Linked DNA regions of Homo sapiens: region 1 is linked to region 2. Evidence: promoter capture Hi-C in 16 types of primary human blood cells and fetal thymus (Javierre and others, 2016). All regions are on one chromosome and are shown on one strand. Each heading gives the region's core, a stretch centred on a gene start or on the middle of the fragment in contact. The rest is flanking DNA. Distances are from core to core; before and after follow the strand shown. Region 1 overlaps PLEKHA1 (pleckstrin homology domain containing A1). Region 2 holds the start of FAM53B (family with sequence similarity 53 member B).

Region 1 (4,920 bases), core at 1,715-4,214, 2.4 Mb before region 2:
AGCGGCGCCCGGCGGGGGAGGGCGGGAGGCCCGCGGCGGTCGCGGGGCCGACGAGCTCCTCGGCGTCTCCGCCCCCCGAGAAATCCCGCTCGGGGCGCGGTGCGCGCAGCTGCCCGGGGATTCCCGGTGGCGCCGGTCGGAGCGCCTCCCTCCAGGGCTGTGCCCGCGGGGCGCGCGTCCCCGGGCATCCTTTCCTGGTGTTTAATGCATTTTGGCTTCAGGACTTGCCGAGGCCGAAGCCGGCTCCGCCCTGGGCCCTGAAGTCGGGCGGTGTCCGCGATTTACCTCCGCACCTTCGGGGCAGGTGGCCAGAGGCAGCGTTGAAAGCGACTTGCCCAAGGTCACGCAGGTGGCACCGGGGAGGCGACCAGACCCAGGTCTTTCGACGCCGAGGCCAGCTGCCAACCGCAGAGCTTTGGGGCCGTCTTGAGTGGTTTGTGGTTTGTTTCAGATGCTTTCTATTGACCTCCTGGAAAGAGGGGAAAGTGTGTCATAATGAAAGCGGTCCTGTTGCTTATAGTGTTTACCGCCTTTGGTAGAATTCTGGTGAGGCTGTGCCCCCGCGCAGAGCATCTACCGTGGTCTGGGCGTATAAATAATGAAACTCCTTTGCTCTCTGGGGGCAGTACAAGAAGAGGTTCAAGGAACAAATAAATATCCAGGCAGTTTCTGCGTTTTCCTCGTCTGTTTGTTTCACCTTCCAATTCTGCAGTACTGGTTTTCTTATTTTACAATTGATCGTTGTTTTAATAAGATTTTCTTTGTTTTAATGAAGTCATTGCCCCTTGTGAGTTAGTTTTCTAAATAGAAAATCTTATTTCCTGTGTGTTTAATGACTGGAACAAATAGTGCACTATGAGGTTTACACCATTGTCTTTCATCTTAGAACTCCTGATCAATCTGCTTTATTTTCCCAAGTACTCAGCTTGCATACTTTCTATGTTAATTTGATGCCACTGAAACCATTTACAGCAAAGTTTGGGTAAGAGTTATGTGATTGTTTTGTGAAACTGTGTTTTTCTTCACAATCTGAAGAACTTGAAGACCCGTTATATTAAAATAATAAGATTTATTCTGATCAAAATACCTGTTTACTTTTCATGCTCTTAATTTTTCCTGTTGACACACTTGTGGCAAAAGAAATATTTCCCCTAGTGGAGTTAAAGTATTTTTTATCTTGGCCAATTTTCCCAAGGAAAATTGCATTTTAGAGTACTGATACATTTAAAAAAGAGTATTTAAGTTTGACAGAATTTGAATTAATAAAGTAGTTAATTTATTTTATACTGCCGTAAACCTTACACTGTATCTACTGACAGTTTTCTCTTGTAGCGTATACCTGTATCAAGATATATGGCTGTGAATTTAGTGACATTAAGAAGATATATATATATATATATATATATATATATATAATATAAATATATGTGTATACACACCGCGCGGGCGCGCGCAGAGCTTCCAATCTTTATCTTGTTAATTAGTATTTTCATTGTCGCTTTGGGAGGGGGGAAAGTAGCAGGTTTGTATCTTTTTTTCTCCCCAGTTTTAGCAGTGTAACAAAATAGGAAAGATGGTGTGTAAAATTGAGTTTGTCATAGACTAGGAGAGACAGTGAAACAGGATAAGTATACAATTGTGAGGAAACTGCCATGAGTTCATAAGCCGGAAGGACCTTTTTAGAAGTGTTTAAGGATGTTAAGAATAGCATTGGATTCTTTTCTTTAAAAGTCATTCAAGTATCGTTTGCTAACATATAGGATATGACAATATTGACCACTCCTAGGAAGATACTTGGGAAAGGTGGAAACATTTTACATTTTTATGGGGACTTCCCCCCACAAAAAACATTTAATGGAGATTTAAACAAAGTGGCTTTTTGACTTAAGCCTGGAAGTTCTTTATTATTATTAGTCATGCTGCAAATCCCGAAGTTATTTTAATTGTGTGATAATTTGTAACCCAGAATGAAATCTAATAAATAGTTTATTAATATAATTTAAGTCATACTTTGACATTGACATATTGCTTGATGTCAAGTCATTATTGTTTAAATAACTTATTTGAGAATGGGGAAGATAGTTTTCTGAATATAGTGTAGTAATTATTTGTGACAATAGTAACATTGCTTTTATTAGAAAATTTTGGGTTGATATAACTAACTGCCTTAAAGTATTTCCTATTTGATTCCAACTGTGAGCTGAGGTAATATGCAAATAATTACTTTTCTCATGCTGGAGCAGTTTACTTTTGTTAATATTAAAATTTAAATTTCAAGATTAAAAAATCTTGTTTTAGATCTGCAATGATACAATAAAATGACTTCAATAGGAGTTAAATATTAAGATTTGGTTTTAGGTTTTTTGACCATTTGTGAGTACACATCCAGCATTTAAGAATTTATTGACATGGTGTCTGAAAGGAATGCTTTCAGAAAGGGCAGAAAACTTGGTAGCTTTAGATGATTGTTTATAATGCTTAATTATTTTTAGAAACATAAAAATATGGGATGTTTTTATGTAAACATAAAGCATCCTGTTATTTGTTATAGCACTAGAACTCTCTTACACTTACTGAGCAATATTAAACCATTTGACCCTAAGTAACTTTTTTTCTTGTGGGTACTGTCTAATAAGGGATATGTGAGTTTGTGATTCCTAGAAGATGCTTAAGCAAACATATGTTTGCTATTTATTTTAGTAAGCCTTTTAATTAGTTGAATTGATAATATTCAGGAAGATAGGGTTTTTGGGATTTTATAAGCTTTCTTTGAACTGGAATTTCTGTTGGATATAAAAGAAAATTAGTCATTTAAGATTTTTTTAAGTTAAATAAGTTTTAGAGCAAAATATTGTTTCCTACATGGAACTCTTACCAGGCTTGTCAGTCTGATAGCTTTATTCTCCAGAAAGTTGTGGTTTTTAGCCCTTTAGGCAGCCTAGCCTTTTATGGTTTAACCATTGAACTCTAGATTCTGGATTGAATTTAACCTCTTGAAGGAAAAGACGATCACAGGCACTAGAATTGGAAGTGATGTCAGAGGGCTTCTAATGTAGCATCTTACCCGGTACAGTAAATCCCTCCTGAGAATTTCCATGTCAGGTGTTCCCTCCCATTATTAAGGATGAGAATGCTATTGCATATGTCATCAGGTTATTCAGCAGTCCAAGCTTACTGAGAACAAACACAAGAGTTTTAATGAGTTTTAATTTTCACTATTCACTGCCTTTAACTGTATTTTGTAGGCTCTTTCCCACCCCCCTGTCCCCCACCCCCCATAACATCATGGGTAAATGATAGCTTTTCTGTCATTTACAGTTATCAAAAAGCTCTAGGCTGGGCTCAGTGGCTCATGCCTGTAATCCCAGCACTTCAGAAAGCCGAGGTGGGAGGATAGCTTGAGCCCAGGAGTTTGAGACCAGCCTGGGCAACATGACGAAACCTTGTCTCTACAGAAAATAGAAAAATCAGCCGGGCGTGGTGGCATGTGCCTGTAGTCCCAGCTAGTTGGGAGGCTGTTGTAGGAGGATCCCTTGAGCCTGGGAGGCAGAGGTTCCAGTGAACAGAGACTGTGCTGTGGCACTCCAGCCTGGGTGACAGGAGAGTGAGACCCTGTCTCCAAAAAAAAAAAAAAAACAGAAAAACAAAAACAAAAAATTGCAGTCTATTCCAGTTTGAACATTCAATCTCATATATATTCAATTTAAAGGTTTTTTTTCCCTTCCTTACCCTGTGGTCAGGCCACTTACTTACTGAAGCACTTGGGGTATGGACGGCTTGTGGTAAGCTCCTGGGATACTTCTTTCCTTTCCCTCTTAAGGGATCTATTTGGATACAAATGTGTCAAGAAGAGAAGTAGAAAAAGACAAGTGTTTGTTATCTGGTGCTATTAGAGTCCTCTCTTGATTAACAGTGGCAGGCCATTGCAGTCTACTAATAGGCAACCAAACTGGCATTTTTGGTGAGATCTTGCAGGGAGACTCCTGCTGCACAGTTTCTGGGTATGAAATTTTCTGTAGCTAAACCTTTTCCAACCTACACACCCATCTGCTTGCTCCCATCCTGTCAGTTTACCCACTGGTTACGTGAATGTGTGTGAGTCGGGGTGGAGATCTTTTCTCTCTGCAGCGAGATATTTTGATAATGGCAAAACAACTTCAATCCAGGTACGCTGTGGTTTCTATTCAACCCACTGGAAACTCACTTCCTTGTGATGTCGAATAGTGGCATACAGACTACTTAAGTCTGCCTTCTTTCTGTGCCCTGCCATTTCTCATCAATTCTCTTTGTCCCCCTTTTCAAGTAGACACATGGGGTCAGTCACTCAGTCTGCTGCATAAGCAGATGTGGAACTGGAGAATGGGATGCAAGTCTGTTCTAGGCTCCTCTGATCTTCATGAGTGATTTCTGTTAGAGGCCCCTGCCACTGTTTTGGTGAAGACCTCCTTCTTTTCCCTGCGTTCTCCCTGAAGACTTACAGTTCTTTCCCTCTCTTCTGTCAACTGCTCTTGCAGAGTGGAAGGATGGTGCTGATTAGGGTGCCAGAGCCATGCCTGACTCTACAGATATTTGATCCTCTATGTCTATATATCCTCAGCTTTGTGTTTGTCAGTGATTGTGGGGCAACAGGACTAGTCCCACTCGACATGTTTTAACAAATAATAGTGAAGTCTTGTGGGCCTGTTGAGGTCTCACTGTACAGAATTTAATTTTTCTTTGCTTTTTCTTATATCACTCAGGCTGTTTCTGTGTTTTGCCTTATTTTTTGGCTTCCTGGTTCCTGACTGATGAGGTGTTAACTGTAATTATGTTAATTTATGACTGATTTGTAAGATCTAACTATACCTTAGAGTATGAGTAAAGCTGAAGGAGAAATTTGGGTTGGGAGGCATGTTAATAATATAATTGTGTCTGGTTTTG
Region 2 (5,011 bases), core at 234-2,733:
CTATAGGAGGCAGAATCCCATTCATCAAACGCTGCAAAGAGCTTTTCTTTGTTCACCATCGTCCTAAGTACAGTACGTGTTAATGAGCCCGGGCGGTCAGATGGAAGGAGCTCGGCTTCAGGGGGCGTCCGAACGCGAGGGACCCGGGCAAACCTGTCCGCGCGGTTCGTCGCTGCTGCGGCGCCCCGGCCCGTACTACAAGCATTGTTCCCCAAGTCCGAAAATGGGGGTGGAGAGCTGGGGGCTGGGGGACAAGGTGGGGGGGCGGGGGGAGCGAGAACACACTTGGGACAACACAAACCGCAAACCCTCCCCGGATTCTGGGTGTCCTCGTTTCTTTCGTCTCTGCCCCAAGAGAAACCCTGAGCGGGGAACCTGACTCCCACGGGCTTGCAAAATCCAAGACTAGCAAAAATGTGACTCGACCAGTGTGCCTGTGCCGGACGGCCCTTCTCGCCATGTGCAAAAGCCACGCCGGCGCGGACGCCCCCACTCCGCAAGCCCCAGCGGTGGCCTCCCCGCGGGCTTCCCCCGCCCGGGACAGAATGCCCCCTCACCCCCATCCTGACCGCCCCGGACAGTCCAGCAGCAGCGGAGCCCGCCGCCTCGCTCCCGCACCCCGGGGGTGGCGGGTGCAAACTTCCGCGAACAAAAGAGTTGTCTGCAAACGATGCGGGAACTTCGGGGCGAATGGGGCCGCCCGGCTCCCGAGACTCCGCGCCTCCTCCGCAGCGGCTAGTCAGGGCTCAAGTTGAGACGCGGAGAGGACACCCCCGGGCGCAGCAGTCCCCGCGCCCGCCCGCCCTGGCCTGGGGAGCGCAGACTTTTCCGCCGCAGCCAGGCTTGTTCTTCCCCATGCCTGTGCTCTGACAAGTCTCACGCCTGCATCAGGGGCGAGACCGAGCGCCCGGAGAAACCGCCCGACCCAACCCAAAGGCGAAACAAGGCAGAAAAAAAGGAAACCAGCAACATTAGGAAAAAAGAAAAAAAAAAGGCAAGCCCATTGCGCACGCGAGCCGGGCTCCCTCCAGCCAGCGGCCGGGACGCACACGGCCCGGACCTCGCTCGGGGCCAGCCCCCCGGCCACCGCCGCCGCCGCCCGGCCCCGGGTCGCTTACTGTGCGCGGCGGGGCGCTCCGGGCGCGGACCCCGCGCCGTCACCGCCAGCGCTCGCCAAGTCGTCCGGGGTGCCCGCCGCGCGTCCGCCGCGCGCACGCTCGCCTGCCGGCGCCGAGCGCTTTGTACGAGCGACTCCCGGGGAGGAGGAAATCGACTTGTCACTTCCTGAAGTGTTTGCAACTCGTCCCTTTAACCGGCACCGGCCAGGCCGCCCGCACCCGCCGCCGCCGCGGAGCCGCCAGACCGCGGCTGCGTGAACTCGGCCCGGCGCTTAGCGGGCGGTGTCGCGGGCCCGGGCGCTAGGCGCGGCGGCGGCGTGCAGGAGGCAGGCGGCGTGCGGCGGCGGCGGCAGGCGAGTGTGCAGTGCGCGCAGCCGCCGATGGGCGGGGAGTGAGGGACTCGCGGCGCGCCGCCGGCGGGGCTAGAGGGCGTCCTGCGGGCTCAGCCGCGCGCCGCTCGCCGCGCTCGCGCCTGCGAGGCCCCGGGACGCGGGAAGTGGCCCCGGGCCTGGGCCGCGCCACCGCGGCTGCCCGGGCCCCGCGCCAGAGGCCCTACGGGCTTCTCTCCCCGCCCCCAGCACGAGCCGGGATGAAAACGCTGGGCCGCATAGGCTTCAGGCGTCCAGCTTCCGGGTTGTTAGATGCCGAGGTTCAAAAGAAACGATCACTTCAGTGGCGTGCAGGACAGCGGGCGGGTGGGGTCGGGGAGGGGGGACCTTAAAGTGTTGTCACACTTTGGGAAAATAAAGCGCAAATTTCCTAACTCGGGGCGCTGTGACTGTGTACTTCAGAAGCCACATCCAAAATACATGCAACTGGCGAAGGAAGGATTTGTGGTTGCTAAGCAGAGGCAGAGCATGTTTAGTTCTGTAACTTAGGATGTTGACTTAAGTTCAGGAATGTAACCCTGATAGAATAAGCAGAGTATTTTCATTGTGCTGCTCACCTGGGGGAGGGGGATTGTTTTCCTTGTGAAGCCCTAGATTTCCCATTACTCCTTCCTACTGGTGTATGTTATTTTATTGACCTTGTATCCAAAAAGCGATTTTTAAAGAGAAGTTTTTTTAAAACTCCCTATGCCTGTTTTGTGTTCTCCTTTGCCAAAAAAACAAAACACCTCATTACTTTACATGGATTGTGTCTGCGCCATTTGAATGGTTCTATTCATAAATAAGGAAACTTTTTCTGTTGCTTCTAGGAACATTTAATTGGTTTTAATCCAATGTTTCAATCCCAGTATCAAACATAAATGAACAATTAACTTCTTGAGCTTTGTGTGCTTGGGAAACTATTATATTTCATGGCTATTGCTGAAATATTTCAGAATATCATCACACCGGACCCATTCTTTTCAGAAAAGCATGAACTGACATCTCCTTTCACACTACAGCTCGCTCCACTGAGTTCTGCTGCATGATTAGAATGGACAGCAATCAGTGGAAAGGATATGAGTCTATTCATTTCAAGTTACATGATGTGGGATAGAGTCAGTTCATCCTAGAAAGCCAAAATGAGCTAACATACAGAATACAGCATACTAAGATATTGATATCCTTACCCATATACGTTGCTTTTTAAAAATGCATTAAGGACCAATCTTGAAAGGAACAAGATCCAAGAACCGATGGTGAACAAAAGAAGGCCCAAGGAATAATCTAAGAATGCTGCTATGCTTAACGAAAAGAGTCAGTGTTTCCCTAAAGCCATCTGATATCACACAATCACCTCAGCCTTTCAGAGCTTTAAGGACAGAGTTTAATTTACTAACGTTTTATTAGGAAGCCTAGAGTGACTCCTGCTGGCAAACATTCAGTTTATTCCTACAATTACTAGTTCATCAGGTCAACTTAAAAAACAAGATGCAGGGTCCCAGGCCTGGAAACAATTATTACAACCATTATTCTTGTTGCTTTCAGGATGATTTGCGTTTCACATTCCAAGGATGGTGGTCATGGCCAGTTCCTCTGCTGTAACACCTCCTTTCCAACCTAAAGCAGCCTGTTTTTCTGGTTCTGAGGCTTTCTTGAGGCTGTCTAGAATATACTTGCTTAAGAAGTTATGCTATTAACCAATAAATAGTTACTTCTCATTTTCTAGATTTGTATCTCCAAAGGCTAAAAAGATATGCATACATTAAGACCTGTGTCACACTTAACCTTCCATACTATAGGTTCTTCCCACATGATATAATAATCCTACAGCTATATTATAAAACATCCTCACTTCTTAGTGCTCAGCTCCATAGTTCTTTACTAAGAAAAAATTCTACCCAAAAGGTTGTTGTTATATTAGAGTTCTGCTCAATTCAGAAGAGTAGCTAAAAATGTAGAACTCTAGATTTAAAGCTATGTAAAAGCTGCAATGGGGTGGGGACATGGAGCTAAACTGTCTATCTTTGTTCAATCCAAAATGGTCAAAACCAGATTTTGCACACAACCAGACACCTAAATGCAAATTCATAGGCCAATTTAGGAATAAATCCATAAATAATCTAAAAACTATTACTTGTAACTTTTCCATTATCACCAACCAACGCTAACCTGATTAAGCCGGAGAACACCCTGGGAAATATAAAATGCAGGGATTACTTGCAGTCTTTTACATCAAGACCAATATATGACGGCCCGGCACAGTGGCTCACGCCTGTAATCCCAGCACTTTAGGAGGTCAAGGCGGGCGGATCACTTGAGGTCAGGAGTTTGAGACTAGCCTGGCCAACATGGTGAAACCTCATCTCTATTAAAAATACAAAAATTAGCCAGGCATGGTGGCAGACACCTGTAATCCCAGCTACTCAGGAGTATGAGGCAGGAGAATCGCTTGAACCTGAGAGGCAGAGGTTGCAGTGAGCCAAGATCGCACCACTGCACTCCAGCCTGGGTGACAGAAAAAGACTCCATCTCAAAAAACAAACAAACAAACAAACAAAAAATATATGAAAGCCAGGGATAAAACACAGCAATCCTAGTTCTCCCAAAGGAGGACTACCAAATAGAGGCACACTTGTGTGTAAGGTGTGCAACACATTTCCACTCAAAACTGCCTGGGAGATAGAAATTGAGTATCATTCTATATTAGAGAGCTCCCCTATTACAAGTTTAAAGCTCTTAAGCAACAGGATGACAATAAGGGTGTGTTTTATTAAGGGTGTAACCTACTATAACTTGTATCAACAAGCTAATAAAAGTATTCACCTAAGCACATTTGTGCAGACGAGGGTAAAGGTTGGGTTTTGATATGCACTAAGGAGTGTCTTAGGTAGTTAGTGGGTGTTTTATTTTTATGCCTTTAGAACCAGATAAATGTGACGTTCAAACAAAGAGCTGAGCTTTGAGGCTTGAACAAGTACCAGCAAATGTTCAGTTTTTCCCATCAAATCTATCTGTAGGTATGGTTGTAAAAAGAGCTTACCACTAAAAAATTATAAACTGGTTTGAGAGAATAACATACTATCCTTTTTAGACTAACAAGTGAACTAAACAAACGCCAAACGTTATACACTGGATCCAACAGCAGTATGCAGATGCACGTGTATTCACCCCTTTATTTGGCTTCCAAAAGCCACTGCCTCTTTGTCACAACCCTTGTATTAAAAGCCAGTCATTCACATTTCACACTGTTCTTTCTACATTTGAAAAGATCTTTTTAAAAGCAGAACCTTTTTAAAATTGCTTATAATAAATTATGAGAAGACAGACATCACCAAGTCCACCTTAAGTATTTTCAAAAAGATAGGTGACTGGAAATATGTTAGCAAAATATACTTCTTTGGAAAATATAAGAAGTTTCTGGTTACAGATGGAAATAAAAAATCTGAACCTATCATGGGGGCAATTTTCACGTCTTACTCAGAAAAAAAAGTTCTGTAAATTTTCCCACATCTTTGTCCAGCT

Evidence for each region. The method cuts DNA at HindIII sites, captures the fragments that hold promoters and counts their contacts. A CHiCAGO score of 5 or more calls a contact.
Region 1: a fragment that was not itself captured here is called in contact with the fragment with the promoter of FAM53B in region 2 in 2 of 17 cell types (non-activated CD4 T cells and activated CD4 T cells); the score reaches 7.6 in non-activated CD4 T cells.

What each region holds. Positions count from the first base shown.
Region 1 is chr10:122,375,120-122,380,039 of GRCh38, forward strand. The region is part of intron 1 of PLEKHA1 (pleckstrin homology domain containing A1); the gene reads left to right. Among named protein-coding and RNA genes, the nearest start is that of PLEKHA1, 2.9 kb to the left of the region's middle. RefSeq lists a silencer at 1-196. The HindIII fragment of the contact is 407 bases long and covers 2,762-3,168 here.
Region 2 is chr10:124,742,895-124,747,905 of GRCh38, forward strand. It overlaps FAM53B (family with sequence similarity 53 member B), which reads right to left and starts at 1,484. Exons shown (of 5, transcript NM_014661.4): 1 at 1,119-1,484. RefSeq lists silencers at 363-442, 533-742, 1,063-1,222, 1,273-1,382, 1,403-1,452 and 1 more. The HindIII fragment of the contact is 7,750 bases long and covers 1-5,011 here.